2 separate regions of the Homo sapiens genome follow, and region 2 is linked to region 1. The links are contacts of gene promoters, found by promoter capture Hi-C in blood cells and fetal thymus (Javierre and others, 2016). All regions are on one chromosome and are shown on one strand. The core of a region is centred on a gene start or on the middle of the fragment in contact, and the rest is flanking DNA. Distances in the headings are between cores, read along the strand shown.

Region 1 (6,097 bases), core at 1,604-4,103:
TGATGTATCACTTGGGTCTCAAGAAGAGGCAGGTGCTAGAAGAAAAGGCTTTCCTTCTTCCCTGGCTTCTTAGTATAATAGAATCGGGCAAGGCTGGGTGGAGTGGAGAAGTAGGGAGGATGCCCGTGGCCAATGCCTTAGAAAGACTTGACTGCTGTGGTTGCATGTGTGGTCGTGTTGGTACCTCGCTGCAATCCTCTTCCCCGCCCAGCATCAGATGGCACTCTTGCGCCATCTCCAGGCTGATGACGCCCCGAGTGGCGACGCTCTAGTCGCCATTTGTCTATGGCAGGCAGGGTGGCTGCCTTAGCTGCCGGAGGTTCCGCACTCTCTAAGGCCCCGGGTGAAGCCCCACCTCTGCTGCGCGCAGCCTGCGGTGCGGGTCATGGCGCGGCTACCGAAGCTGGCAGTCTTTGATTTGGGTGAGGGACGGGAAGGGGAGAATTTCGTAAGGTGCTCTCCTTTTCCACATCCCTAACAGCAGCTCCCGAATCCCTGCATCTCCCGCCCCAGGCTGAACCTTCCCTCTCCTTCCTCTCGCAGATTACACTCTCTGGCCTTTCTGGGTCGACACGCACGTAGACCCTCCGTTCCATAAGAGCAGGTGAGGTAGGGACAGGGAAGACTGGGGGCGAGATAGGACCCAGCCAGGGCTGAGCGCACTCTTGCCCTCTCCAGTGATGGAACTGTACGAGATAGGCGGGGCCAAGACGTCCGACTGTACCCAGAGGTGCCTGAGGTCCTAAAACGATTGCAGAGCCTTGGGGTGCCCGGTGCGGCTGCTTCAAGGTAAGAAGAGCGACTGACAACTGACAGTGTAATGCTGAAGGGTGCATGCAAGAGACAGTGAAACCCCTGGTCTACAAAAATAGGGGCGGTGCAAGTTTCCAAGTATTTACATATTTTTTCCCTTGAACGCTCTCCTGTGCCTTTTAACTATTAAAAAGTGGGGCCAGCAGGCGGGCGCGGTGGCTCACGTCTGTAATCCCAGCACTTTGGGAGGCCGAGGCGGGTGGATCACGAGATCGGGAGTTCAAGACCAGCCTGATCAACATGGTGAAACCCCGTCTCTACTAAAAATACAAAAATTAGCAGGGCGTGGTGGCACGCACCTGTAATCCTAGCTACTCGGGAGGCTGAGGCAGGAGAATCGCTTGAACCCGGGAGGCGGAGGTTGCAGTGAGCTGAGATGGAGCCACTGCACTTCAGCCTGGGTGACAGAGTGAGACAATGTCTCAAAAAAAAAAAAAAAAAAAAAAGTGGGGCCAGACACAGTGACTCACACCTGTAATCTTAGCATTTTGGGAGGCCTAGGTGGGAGGATCACTTGAGCCCAGGAATTTGAGACCAGCCTAGGCAATAGAGGGAGACCCTATCTCTACCAAAAAAAAAAAAAAAATTGTAGTGGCGTGCACCTGTAGTCCCAGCTACTTGGGAGGCTGAGGTGGGAGGATCACTTGAGCCCAGGAGGTCGTGACCACAGTGAGCCGTGATTGGGTCGCTGCACTCCAGTCTGGGCAACAGAGCTAGACCCTGTCTCAAAACAAAAGCTAAAACATTGGCCCAGCACCAATTGTGTCAAATAGGAAGGCAATGGAGTTAAACAGAGGCTGAGGATGCCTGTCCATCCCGGAAAAACAGCAAGTTGATTTCCCTGGTTATACTTACTAACTTTGCTTAATAAGTTAACGTAGCCCTGGCCCTTCACTTTGCTAATCCCATCTTTTACACCGTTTTGCAGGACAAGTGAGATAGAAGGGGCCAACCAGCTACTGGAGCTCTTTGACCTCTTCAGGTACTTTGTTCATCGGGAAATCTATCCAGGCAGCAAGATCACACACTTTGAGAGGTATGCGGAGATAAGGGAGGAGCAGGGTGAGAAAGTATCAGAGAGGCCTGGGAAACCAAGATACTAGCTTGGTTACTCCTGCCCTGTCTTGAATAGGTTGCAGCAGAAGACTGGAATTCCTTTCTCCCAGATGATCTTCTTTGATGATGAGAGGCGGAATATTGTAGACGTCAGCAAACTGGGTACTGAGTGATGAGGAACAGCCATTTGGGGTCCCTAGGAGGGATTAGGTAGATACATACAGGTTGGATAGTTTGCCCTATAGGTGGCACTCACAAAGGTCAGAGTAATAATGGAGAACCCTGAAAGCTTAATGAAATGTGACTTCTTATCTTTCTAGGTGTTACCTGCATTCACATCCAGAATGGAATGAATCTTCAAACTCTAAGTCAAGGGTTAGAGACATTTGCGAAGGCCCAAACTGGGCCTTTGAGGTCCAGCCTTGAGGAGAGCCCATTTGAGGCCTAAACTGAAAGGAAATCAAGAAGGCATTTTCAGGTGCATTTGTAATTTATTAAAGTTCATCTGTGTGTGACAGAAGAGATTTTACCCACAGTGTGGGGAGTTTCTATTTTTCTAGCCTGTGAAATGGGGTTGGTTGTCCTGAGGTGCAGAGACCAGAATGTGAGACATTAGACTGCATCAGGTTTGCCATCTAAACTTAGGGCAACCCCAAGTGCTTGAACCTATACCACCCCACTTTCCTGAGCTCTGTAAAGAGCATGAAGTTTTCCCACTGACCCCATACACTGAGGTGCCATCACACTGCACATTTCCTTCCGGAGAACAAGCACGTACTCAGGTGGAGATAGAACTGTCTTTTTACTTAATAGAAAATGATGTGGCAGCTTTAAGAGGAGCGCGTCGGTCTGGGGCTGGTGGCTTGGGTCACGTGACACCGGTGGTCTCGTTTGCGCCTCTTGATGTCGCGGCGGCGCCCTGAGGACGGATTGGGCAAGGCTGGTCCCTGTGTGATGAGACATCACCCTCCCAGGAGCAAGGCGGAAGTCTGGAGGACGCTGAGGGGCGGAGGCGGGAGAGGCGAGCTCGCGATGAGTGGTCTCGGCAGGCTCTTCGGGAAGGGTGAGCCAGGGTGGGACTGGCCAGCCAGGAGGCGCTGGCTGGTGCAGGGGAAGAGGAGACCCCGGCGAGATTCGGCCGGACCGCTGCGCCGGGCAGGGGAAGAGAATCAGGAGACAGGCTGACTGGAAAACCCCGGCGGCCGATGGCGGAGCAAGGCTCATCGCCGGTGCCAAAAGGCACACCATGTCGGGGCGCCTTGTTCCCGTCCGCCGTCCTCCCCCACTCTCAGAGGGAAGAACTCAAGATCTGGGAGGGGACTTGAGTTGAGGGCGTGGCGATCGTGCTGACTCCCACTGTTCAGGCTTGAAGACGAGTTTCCTGCTGTCTTCAGCCATTTTCAAAACCTTGTTCTATAATACTTTGTGCTGGGCAAGAGGGATCTAAGGTGAAGAAGAAAGACTGCCTTCTTAGCCCGGCGCGGGGGCTCACGCCTGTACTCGCAACACTTTGGGAGGCCGACGTGGGTGGATCATGAGGTCAGGAGTTTGAGATCAGCCTGGCCAATATGGTGAAACCCCGTCTCTACTAAAAATATAAAAATTGGCCGGGCGCGGTGGCTCACGCCTGTAATCCCAGCACTTTGGGAGGCCGAGGTGGGTGGATCACCTGAGGTCAAGAGTTCGAGACCAGCCTGGACAACATGGTGAAACCTTGTCTCTACTAAAAATACAAAAAAAAAAAAAAAATTAGCTGGTTGTGGTGGCACGCGCCTGTAGTCCCAGCTACTGGGGGAGGCTGAGACAGGTGAATCGCTTGAACCCAGGAGGCGGAGGTTGTAGTGAGCCAAGATTGCACCAATGCACTCCAGCCTTGGTGACAGAGGGAGACTCCATTCTCAAAAAAAAAAAAAAAAATTAGGTGGGCATGATGGTGTGTGCCTGTAGTCCCAGCTACTCAGGGAGGCTGAGGCAGGAGAATCACTTGAACCCGGGAGACGGAGGTTGCAATGAGCTGAGATCATGCCACTGCACTCTGGCCTGGGCAACAGAGCGAGACTCTGTCTCAAAAAAAGAAGTCCTGGCGCGGTGGCTCATGCCTGTAATCAAAACACTTTGGGAGGCCGAGGCGGGCAGATCACCTGAGGTTGGGAGTTCGACACCAGCCTGACCAACATGGAGAAAGCCTGTCTGTACTAAAAACACAAAAAATTAGCCAGGCATGGTGGCACATGCCTGTGATCCCAGCTATTTGGGAGGCTGAGGCAGGAGAATTGCTTGAACCCAGGAGGCGGAGGTTGAGGTGAGCTGAGATCACGCCATTGCGTTCCAGCCTGGGCAACAAGACTGAAACTCTGCCTAAAGAAAAAAAAAGAAAGGCAGCTAGGAATAGTAAAAAGAATATTGGTTTTAGAACTCATACTGCCACATCTTGATTCCTGCACAATCTCTTATTAGTTGTGATTTTTAACATCTTTGTGGTTGTTTTCACATTTTTAAAGTGAAGAGATAGCACGTTCATTGTAGAGATTTGGGGATTAGCAATAACACAGTCAGGTCTCTAGCACATACTATGTATTCAATGATTGGTGGCTAATATTTTTCCTTCACAAAATTTGGGCCTACTCCACTGGACTCCTCAGGGAAGAAGGAGAAAGGGCCAACCCCTGAAGAAGCAATACAGAAACTGAAGGAGACAGAGAAGATACTGATCAAGAAACAGGAATTTTTGGAGCAGAAGATTCAACAGGAGCTACAAACAGCCAAGAAGTATGGGACCAAGAATAAGAGAGGTAATGAGGGAAACAAGCCTATGGGGAGGGCCCAGATGGGAAGCAGGTGCTTCTGACTCTTGATGTTCAGGGTATGGGCTGGGTCAGCTGCCCTACAGGCTTTGCGGAGGAAGAAAAGATTCGAACAGCAGCTGGCACAAACTGACGGGACATTATCCACCCTGGAGTTTCAGCGTGAGGCCATTGAGAATGCCACTACCAATGCAGAAGTCCTTCGTACCATGGAGCTTGCTGCCCAAAGCATGAAGAAGGCCTACCAGGACATGTGGGTACGGGGGGAGGGGTGGAGGGGACCCAGGCACTGGGAAGAGTGGCTTGCTATCACACTTTAAACTTTAAAGCCTCTCAGAATGTGAATTTGCAGTATAGATACTTGTGATGGCTAGACATCCATCTGCCCCTTGCTTCCTATAAAATTCTTTCGCTGCCTGGGGCATTCTAGGGAGGAAAGATGCCTTCTCTAATTCTTTTTTTGTTTTGTTTTGTTTTGTTTTTTGAGATGGAGTCTTGCTCTGTCGCCCAGGCTGGAGTGCAGTGGCACAATCTCGGCTCACTGCAACCTCCGCCTCCTGGGTTCAAGTGATTCTCCTGCCTCAGCCTCCTGAGTAGCTGGGATTACAGGTGTGCACTACTGTGCCCAGCTCATTTTTGTATTTTTAGTAGAGATGGAGTTTTGCCATTTTGGCCAGGCTGGTCTTGAACTCCTGACCTCAGGTGATCCACCTGCCTTGGCCTCCCAAAGTGCTGGGATCACAACTTGCATCTTTGCAATTTTCCAGGGATCTCTTCTGATTGATAGTTATGGGCTTATCAGTGTGACCCTGCAAGGCAGGAGGGGTTTCATTCATGTGAGATGAGAAAGTCAAGGGGGCATTGTTGCGTGATTTCTTAGCTATCTATCTCATTCTCAGGGACATTGACAAGGTAGATGAACTGATGACTGACATCACGGAACAACAGGAGGTGGCCCAGCAGATCTCAGATGCCATTTCTCGGCCTATGGGCTTTGGAGATGATGTGGATGAGGTGATTGGGGGTGAAGGGTCAGGGAATATTGCAGAAAGTATGGGACTGGCCAGAAGGAACACCCAAGAGAGGCTCTTGGGACAAGTTTGGGAGGGAACTTCAAAAGTGGTATGTTTTTGGAGGTAGAAGTTTTTTTCTTCATCTAAAGTGGTCTTGTCTTCCCTATCCAGGATGAACTGCTGGAGGAGCTAGAGGAGCTGGAGCAGGAGGAATTGGCCCAGGAGTTGTTAAATGTGGGCGACAAGGAAGAAGAACCCTCAGTCAAATTGCCTAGTGTACCTTCTACTCATCTGCCGGCAGGGCCAGGTATGCAGGGTTGTTCTGTTGTCTTGAGGACTTAAGAGGGTGGGAGAGATATGGGGAAAGATTATTCCTCATCCATCCTGCCTCAAAGGAGCCACACAGAAAGG
Region 2 (6,728 bases), core at 1,516-4,015, 1.1 Mb after region 1:
GCCACAGTACTGGAAATTATACAAATTGACCCTGGTACTGGGTAACCCTTTGACCAAGTAATTCCGTCAGGCAAAAACCAGGAGCCCCATGGCTGGTTTGAGTATTTTAAGTAATTTTACATGCATGATCAGATTTAGAAGGGGCACTTGGCGAAAGTGCAGAAGATAATAGGGATTTTAGTACTGGTTCTATTACTGATATTATGACATAGCCAGGTCACTGATTCTGTGTGCCTGCATTTTATATCTGTACATTTAGTAACAGTAACCATGGCTACCTTTATGGGTCTTCTGAAGATGAATGAGAACAGTGTTAGTAAAGGGTTTTCAGGTCCCTGGAAAAGGAATACAGTTTAATTGTGTGTATTTAAGTCATTGCGTTTAATTTAGAGGTTGTGGTAGAGGTGGGGGTTTGTTTTTCTTTTTTTTCCTCATCATTTCTGACTTTTACCCTTCTCTATACCAGGCTCTAATGCTAGAAAATTTACAGAAACACTCAACACCCCATGCTGCATTCCAGCCAAATTCCCAGGTGAGAAAGAAGGTGTATTCAATGGAGTGGGCCCTTTGGATATCCAGACACATGGAAGGACGTGGTGTTGTATATTTGATGCTTAAGTCCTCATGACTGTTTTCCTAAGTTCTCTTAGTCAGAAATGTTCTCAAACCAGGACAGTTGAATTCTAATCAACCCAGTTGTATACAAGGGCCTGGAGTAAAGAACAGAATCAGAGGCACTGTTAGTTTATAATAATTGAAATGGCATGTGTAGAAAGGTGTGGCTTCCATTAATTACGTGTAGTACAGAGATCTGAAGTCATTTATCTGCCATGAATTTAGGAAAGGTAGTTGATGTCTTTGAGTATAGATATGAAGTAGATCACCAATATGGCAGTGTAGGGAAATAGTTGCTGATTAAGAACTCTTGTTGATGTAGATTTTCCAAGGGTTCAATCCTGTGTAAGTCACCCACCATTACTAGTGTTAACTACTAACTCAGTGCACTTACTCATAAACATTACTAATACCTCTTTACTTAGGATAAGAAACAACCTTTGGAGGCCTTGGTCTTCTCCATTTCCTTATCTGTAATATGAGAAACAGACTAAACCCATGGGTTTATAACTGTTCTCTTAGGGTTTTGTGGAGCTGCTTTGGGGAGCTTCCTAGGGGAAATACCTTTTTCCCAAGTAAGCAAGGCTCATACTCCTCTCTTAAACTAGATTAGATCTACTTTTTAACTATTGAGTTTCTGCATAAAATTTTTAAATTATTCCACAGTTAAAATCCAAAAATTATTAGGCTGCACAGTCTCTTAAAGTTTCTTTCAGCTTTTAAAAATCCCCTCATTATAATGTGTCATATACTTAAAGGAAAAATCCAAGTCTTTGTTAAAGCAATAGTGTGCAGCCTCAGTACTAGATGAAGTCTCAGGATACTGTGGAAAACAAGAGAGCCCTCCTCCTCCTTTGTTATCACCTCATTAAGCTGTAAGTATCATAATCTAGCCAGCATTCAGAGGTTCAATTAAGTACTTTAACAAGCATAAGAAACTGCATAAGTTAATCAGCTTAATTGTATTCCTTTTGCCCATTGCATGTTAGTCTTTGAAGCTTTGCTTTTATTAACACCGGGTTTGTGCAGCAAACATGCCTATTCTGTAATACACATGCAACCCACCCTTCAACAATGTCCATTGAGTGCCAAGAGACTCATTTCTACTTTAGGTGAAAATAAACCTTTACTATGTTTAGGAAACATGACTAATAACATAGAAAGTATTCAGGTTTTTTTGCTTTTTCAGTTCTAAATAGGACTTGCTAAGCAAGAAGGTTCTAGGGAGGAGAACTTGTGAAGAGAAAGCTGGAGGTCAGAAGGGCAACTTGGGAATCTGTATTACAAAAAAAAAAAAATAGGAAAAGGCATAAGCTCCTGTTACCAAGGATTTCCTTTCACCCAGACAAAATGGAGTTATAACTTTGTCTAAATGCTGAATGGATATCCCTTTTCTTAGTCTCTTGATTTCATACTTTTAAATACTATACTTGAATTTTGGAGTTGTTTGATAAAATGTTTCCTGGATATGAGGCCGGGCATTGTGGCTCACGCCTGTAATGCTAGCACTTTGGGAGGCCAAGGCGGGTAGATCACCTGAGGTCAGGAGTTTGAGACCAGCCTGGCCAACATGGCAAAACCCCGTCTATACTAAAAATGCAAAAATGAGCTGGTTGTGGTGGCACATGTCTGTAATCCCAGCTACTCAGGAGACTGAGGCAGGAGAATGTCTTGAACCCAGGAGGCGGAGGTTGCAGCAAGCCAAGATCGCGCCATTGCTCTCCAGCCTGGATGACAGTGATAGTCCGTCTCAAAAAAAAAAAAAAAAATGTTTCCTGGATAGGTAACGGTTGATCTTTTGGAGGAACTGGCTTTTTTTTTTTTTTTTCTTGAGATGGAGTCTTGCTCTTTAACCCAGGCTGGAGTGCAGTGGCACGATCTCAGTTCACTGCACCCACCACCTCCTGAGTAGCCAGGATGACAGACTCACACCACAATATGCCCACCTTTTTGTATTTTTGGTAGAGACGGGTTTTGCCATGTTGCTGAGACTGATCTTGAACTCCTGAGCTCAAGCAGTCTTCCCACTTCAGCCTCCCAAAGTACTGGGATTACAGACGTGAGCCCCCATGTTTCAGTCTTGATACTACCAAAAGGAAATTTTAGATTACCCTTTAGATAATGTTCCACGTAATCTAGGAATTTAGCCTAAAAGATATAATTACAGGAATTTTAATTTAAGGTTATTTGTGGCTGGGCACGGTGGCTCACACTTGTAATCCCAGCACTTTGGGAGGCTGAGGCGGGTGGATCACTTGAGGTCAGGAGTTTGAGACCCGTCTGACCAACATAGTGAAACCCCGTCTCTACTAAAAATACAAAAATCAGCCGAGTGTGGTGGTGCACACCTGTAATCCCAGCTACTCAGGAGGCTGAGGCAGGAGAATCATTTGAAGCCAGGAGGCAGAGGTTGCAGTGAGGGAAGATCACGCCACTGCACTCCAGCCTGGGCAACAGAGTGAAACTCTGTCTCAAAAAATAAAAATAAAGAATAGTAATTTGTATACCAGTATCACTCTTTGGGAACTGAATATTTAAATCAAAAACTTATGTGCAGCTCTTCTTTTTGCCCTTTTTTTGTGTGTGACTCAAGGCTATTCTGTTCTTCAATATAGAACTAACTTAGAAAAAAGCCTTCCAACATTTTAGTTATCTTTCTTGGGCGCAACTATAAGGAGTGGACCTTTGCTCCATGGAATGTTCTTCTTTGCATTCTCCTGGTTTGTTTTCCTAGACCCTCTGTTTTCATTTCCTCTACACAGATTGGTGAGGAAATGAGCCAGAACAGTTTCATAAAACAGTATCTGGAAAAGCAGCAGGAGCTACTTAGGCAGCGTCTGGAACGTGAAGCTCGAGAAGCTGCAGAACTTGAAGGTAAGCCCAGATTGTCACTTTTAACAAGGAGTTCGTCATTCTTATCCCTGTCACCAAGTAGATAGGCCTGTCTAACTAGACAATTTCAGAAATAAGTGAGGCTGAGACTGCTACTTACTTGCTTTCATAGCCCATGAAGCCAAGTGGTTTACTATTTACTTTTGTCAGGGAAGAGGACACTTAATTTGACTGTCTTGTTAGAAGAGGATTCCTGCCAACAGGAAGAGTTATAAGTAAATTAAGCTACCATTTAGATGAAGTAGAGCTGAATCCCAGGGAGTTTTTTCTTTTTATACGGTGCTCTTTTTGGTATGTATCTCTGTATCTGTGACTTTGCCTGACCTCCTTCACTCCTCTACATATTCCTACATGCTGAGTCCTTCACTCCCTCCCTGCCCCGACCCGATCTGTACTTTGCAGAAGCTTCAGCTGAGTCGGAGGACGAGATGATCCATCCTGAGGGAGTGGCTTCCCTGCTGCCTCCTGACTTTCAGAGCAGCCTGGAGAGACCAGAGCTGGAGCTCAGCAGACATTCGCCCAGTACGTATCTCCCTCCCCACTGCGCTGTTTTGTCAATCCTGCGTAGTTGGTGGGGGGAGGTAGTTACACCTCCTTTCATGCTAAGCCTCCATGAAAGTCCCAGGGAAATTCTGTGACATTGATATTTGACATCTGTTTCTCATGGAAAGTATACCCTTTTTGAAGTCTGCTTTCACCTATATATTGTGTTACCTTCTCAGTGTTTTACGAAGCAGTGTGATTTTTCTTCTCATCTGTACCTCTTCAACTCTTCTACCTCTGAATTTGGCAACAGTCAGCTCTTTTTCATCTCTTCACCAGTTGTGTATATTACGTGTTAACACATTCAGTCACCCTCTGGAGTTGGGTATCTGCTGTGGTTTAATCAACAAATTTTTATTGTGTACTTGTTGTATACCAGGCACATGCTAGGCACGAGGAATATAGTAAAGAAAGAAACAAGTCTCAGCCCCAAGAAACTTAGTCTAGTGAGGACATGGACATTAGTTACAGTTGTTTTGGCTACTGTGCAAGGCAACGCAGAGTATTATGTGAGCATATTATAGTAGGGAGCTCTAACCTAGTATATGGGATTGGTTCAGGCAAGATTAATTAATTTCTTCACATTATAGAAAATATTAAGCACCCAGACTGGGTGTGGTCGCTCACGCCTCTAATCCCAGCACTTTGGGAGGCTGAGGCAGGAGGATCACCTGAGGTCAGGAGTTCCAGACCAGCCTGGAAAAACCGTGAAAAAGCCATGGCAAAACCCTGTCTCTACTAAAAATATAAAAATTAGCTGGGTATGGTGGCAGGCACCTGTAATCCCAGTGACTCGGGAGGCTAAGGCAGGAGAATCGCTTGAACCCGGGAGGCAGAGGTTGCAGTGAGCCAAGATTGCACCATTGCACTTCAGCCTGGACAATAGAGCGAGACTGTGTCTCAAAAAATACATAAAATCATAATAGGCACCCAATTTTGCATAATATCTCAAGCAAAAGTCTATAAATATAGCCTTTGTCTTTTGGGAACTACCTGTCTAAGTCAGTATACTTTGAGGAAAATATGTGCAGGTTGAGCATGCCTAATCCAAAGACCCAAAACTTTTTGAGTATTCACATGACACTCAAAGGAAATGCTCATCAGAGCATTTCAGATTTTGGGTTTTCAGATTAGGGATGCTGAATCAGAAAGTATAATGCAAATATTCAAAAATCCAAAATCTAAAACACTTGTGATCCCAAGCATTTTGGAAAAGGGATACTTAATATGTATATAAGACATGTGGATTGTTAGTACATATGTTAAACCAATGTGTAACTTAACAAGTATTTTGAATAATTAGTGTTGAGGGGGATGCGGAATCCACCATAATCAGTGTTTTTAGGATGTATGGAGGTTTCCAGCTCTTCTGATTAATACAGAATTCCTTCATGGACTACACTTGATTTTAGTTAAAAGGCTGAGCAGCGATAGACTCTTCATGGAAATAGATTTTTTAGGAGACATTTAATGGTGGGAAAGAAATTTTCCAAAAGGCTAGAGAAAATAGAGAGCCTTTGAGTCTAGTTTTAAGGTCCTGTTTTACTCAGTCCCTGTTTTTCTTGATCCTAGTCTTAGACCCAGAAAGACATTTCTAGAAATCTTTTAGTAAGAAAATACTGGCCAATACTTTGGAATTATTAAGTTCCTTAGGGACCTCTTTTCTCCTGAAATACGAGAGTAGTAGACCCTCAGCTGATCCACTTTGCTCCCTGCGCCCTTTCCCCCTTGATTTTAAAGCCGAGAGGAAAGAGAAAGCTCTTCTAAAATTGTCGGTATTTCTTCTCACATAAAACAAAAAAAAATTTATTGAATTCCTACTGCATACATATCTCTGTGAGAGTATATTGGGAGTTAGCACAGCATAAAGTCTGTTAGGAAGAGAGAACAATTACACATAAATCGAACAACAGAAGATAGTATGTGACAATGATACAGACATAGGGAACCAAAAGAGTGGAAGAGCTCTGAGGACTACAGTGATTAGAGAAAGCCTCATAAGGAGATACAGGATTTGAGCTGAGCCTTAGAAATGGTTTGGCAGAGAGGATACAAGAAGATATTTTTAGGAAGGAACAAAGTCAGAGAGATAGGAATGAAAATGGTATTTTTAAAGGAGAGGTAGTAGACTAATCTAGCCAGAGTAGAGTATTTCACATTCAAGAATAGTCAGCAAAACAATTTAAAAGGTAGATGAGGGTGATACACAGAGGGCTTTAAATGCCAGGCCAGTAAGTATGAGGGTTTTTTTTTTAGTTCTATAGGTAATGGGGGAACCATTGAAAATTCTTAATAGGACCATGATTTGATAAGGACCTCTCTTTAAAAAGAGAGGCTGTCAGTTCTTAATATAATTCGAAATGAAAATGAGAAATGATTTCTGAAATAGATTTCAAAAGCAAAGATTTAGAGTAAGGGTAGCCAATCTTTTCAGTGCTTTATGTCATCAGTAAGACCCTGCCCATGGCTAATGATTGATGGAGGAAAAAAAAAACCCCAGACGTTAAAAAAAAAAAAAGGTGAAAAATAAATTGGAAAATATGAATGTGGTAAATTGTAGAGTACTGCTCATAATTGCCGTAAATGCTCTTCAGTGTCCTTTATGCCATAAACTTTTCTACCTCTGATCTTGGCTTAGATAAGAATCCCATTATAGATGTTGTACAAAATTTAGTTAA

The links. Contacts are between HindIII fragments. The CHiCAGO score rates a contact against its expected background, and 5 or more counts as called.
Region 2: a contact is called between a fragment that was not itself captured here and the fragment with the promoter of CHMP4A in region 1, in 1 of 17 cell types (non-activated CD4 T cells). The highest score is 5.0, in non-activated CD4 T cells.

Annotation. Positions count from the first base shown.
Region 1 is chr14:24,210,244-24,216,340 of GRCh38, reverse strand. It overlaps CHMP4A (charged multivesicular body protein 4A), which reads left to right and starts at 2,853. Exons shown (of 6, transcript NM_014169.5): 1 at 2,853-2,932; 2 at 4,512-4,661; 3 at 4,749-4,926; 4 at 5,573-5,687; 5 at 5,858-5,993. The coding sequence starts at 2,902. It overlaps NEDD8-MDP1 (NEDD8-MDP1 readthrough), which reads left to right. Exons shown (of 7, transcript NM_001199823.3): 4 at 679-789; 5 at 1,742-1,849; 6 at 1,946-2,031; 7 at 2,190-2,398. The coding sequence ends at 2,317. MDP1 (magnesium dependent phosphatase 1) reads left to right here and starts at 275. Exons shown (of 6, transcript NM_138476.4): 1 at 275-422; 2 at 544-604; 3 at 679-789; 4 at 1,742-1,849; 5 at 1,946-2,031; 6 at 2,190-2,398. The coding sequence starts at 386. The coding sequence ends at 2,317. RefSeq lists enhancers at 229-398, 2,704-2,998, 2,635-3,134, 2,562-3,370, 3,325-3,444 and 1 more. The HindIII fragment of the contact is 5,751 bases long and covers 2,161-6,097 here.
Region 2 is chr14:23,087,283-23,094,010 of GRCh38, reverse strand. It overlaps ACIN1 (apoptotic chromatin condensation inducer 1), which reads left to right. Exons shown (of 19, transcript NM_001386863.1): 2 at 467-532; 3 at 3,378-3,489; 4 at 3,910-4,029. Among named protein-coding and RNA genes, the nearest start is that of ACIN1, 4.5 kb to the left of the region's middle. The HindIII fragment of the contact is 2,299 bases long and covers 1,616-3,914 here.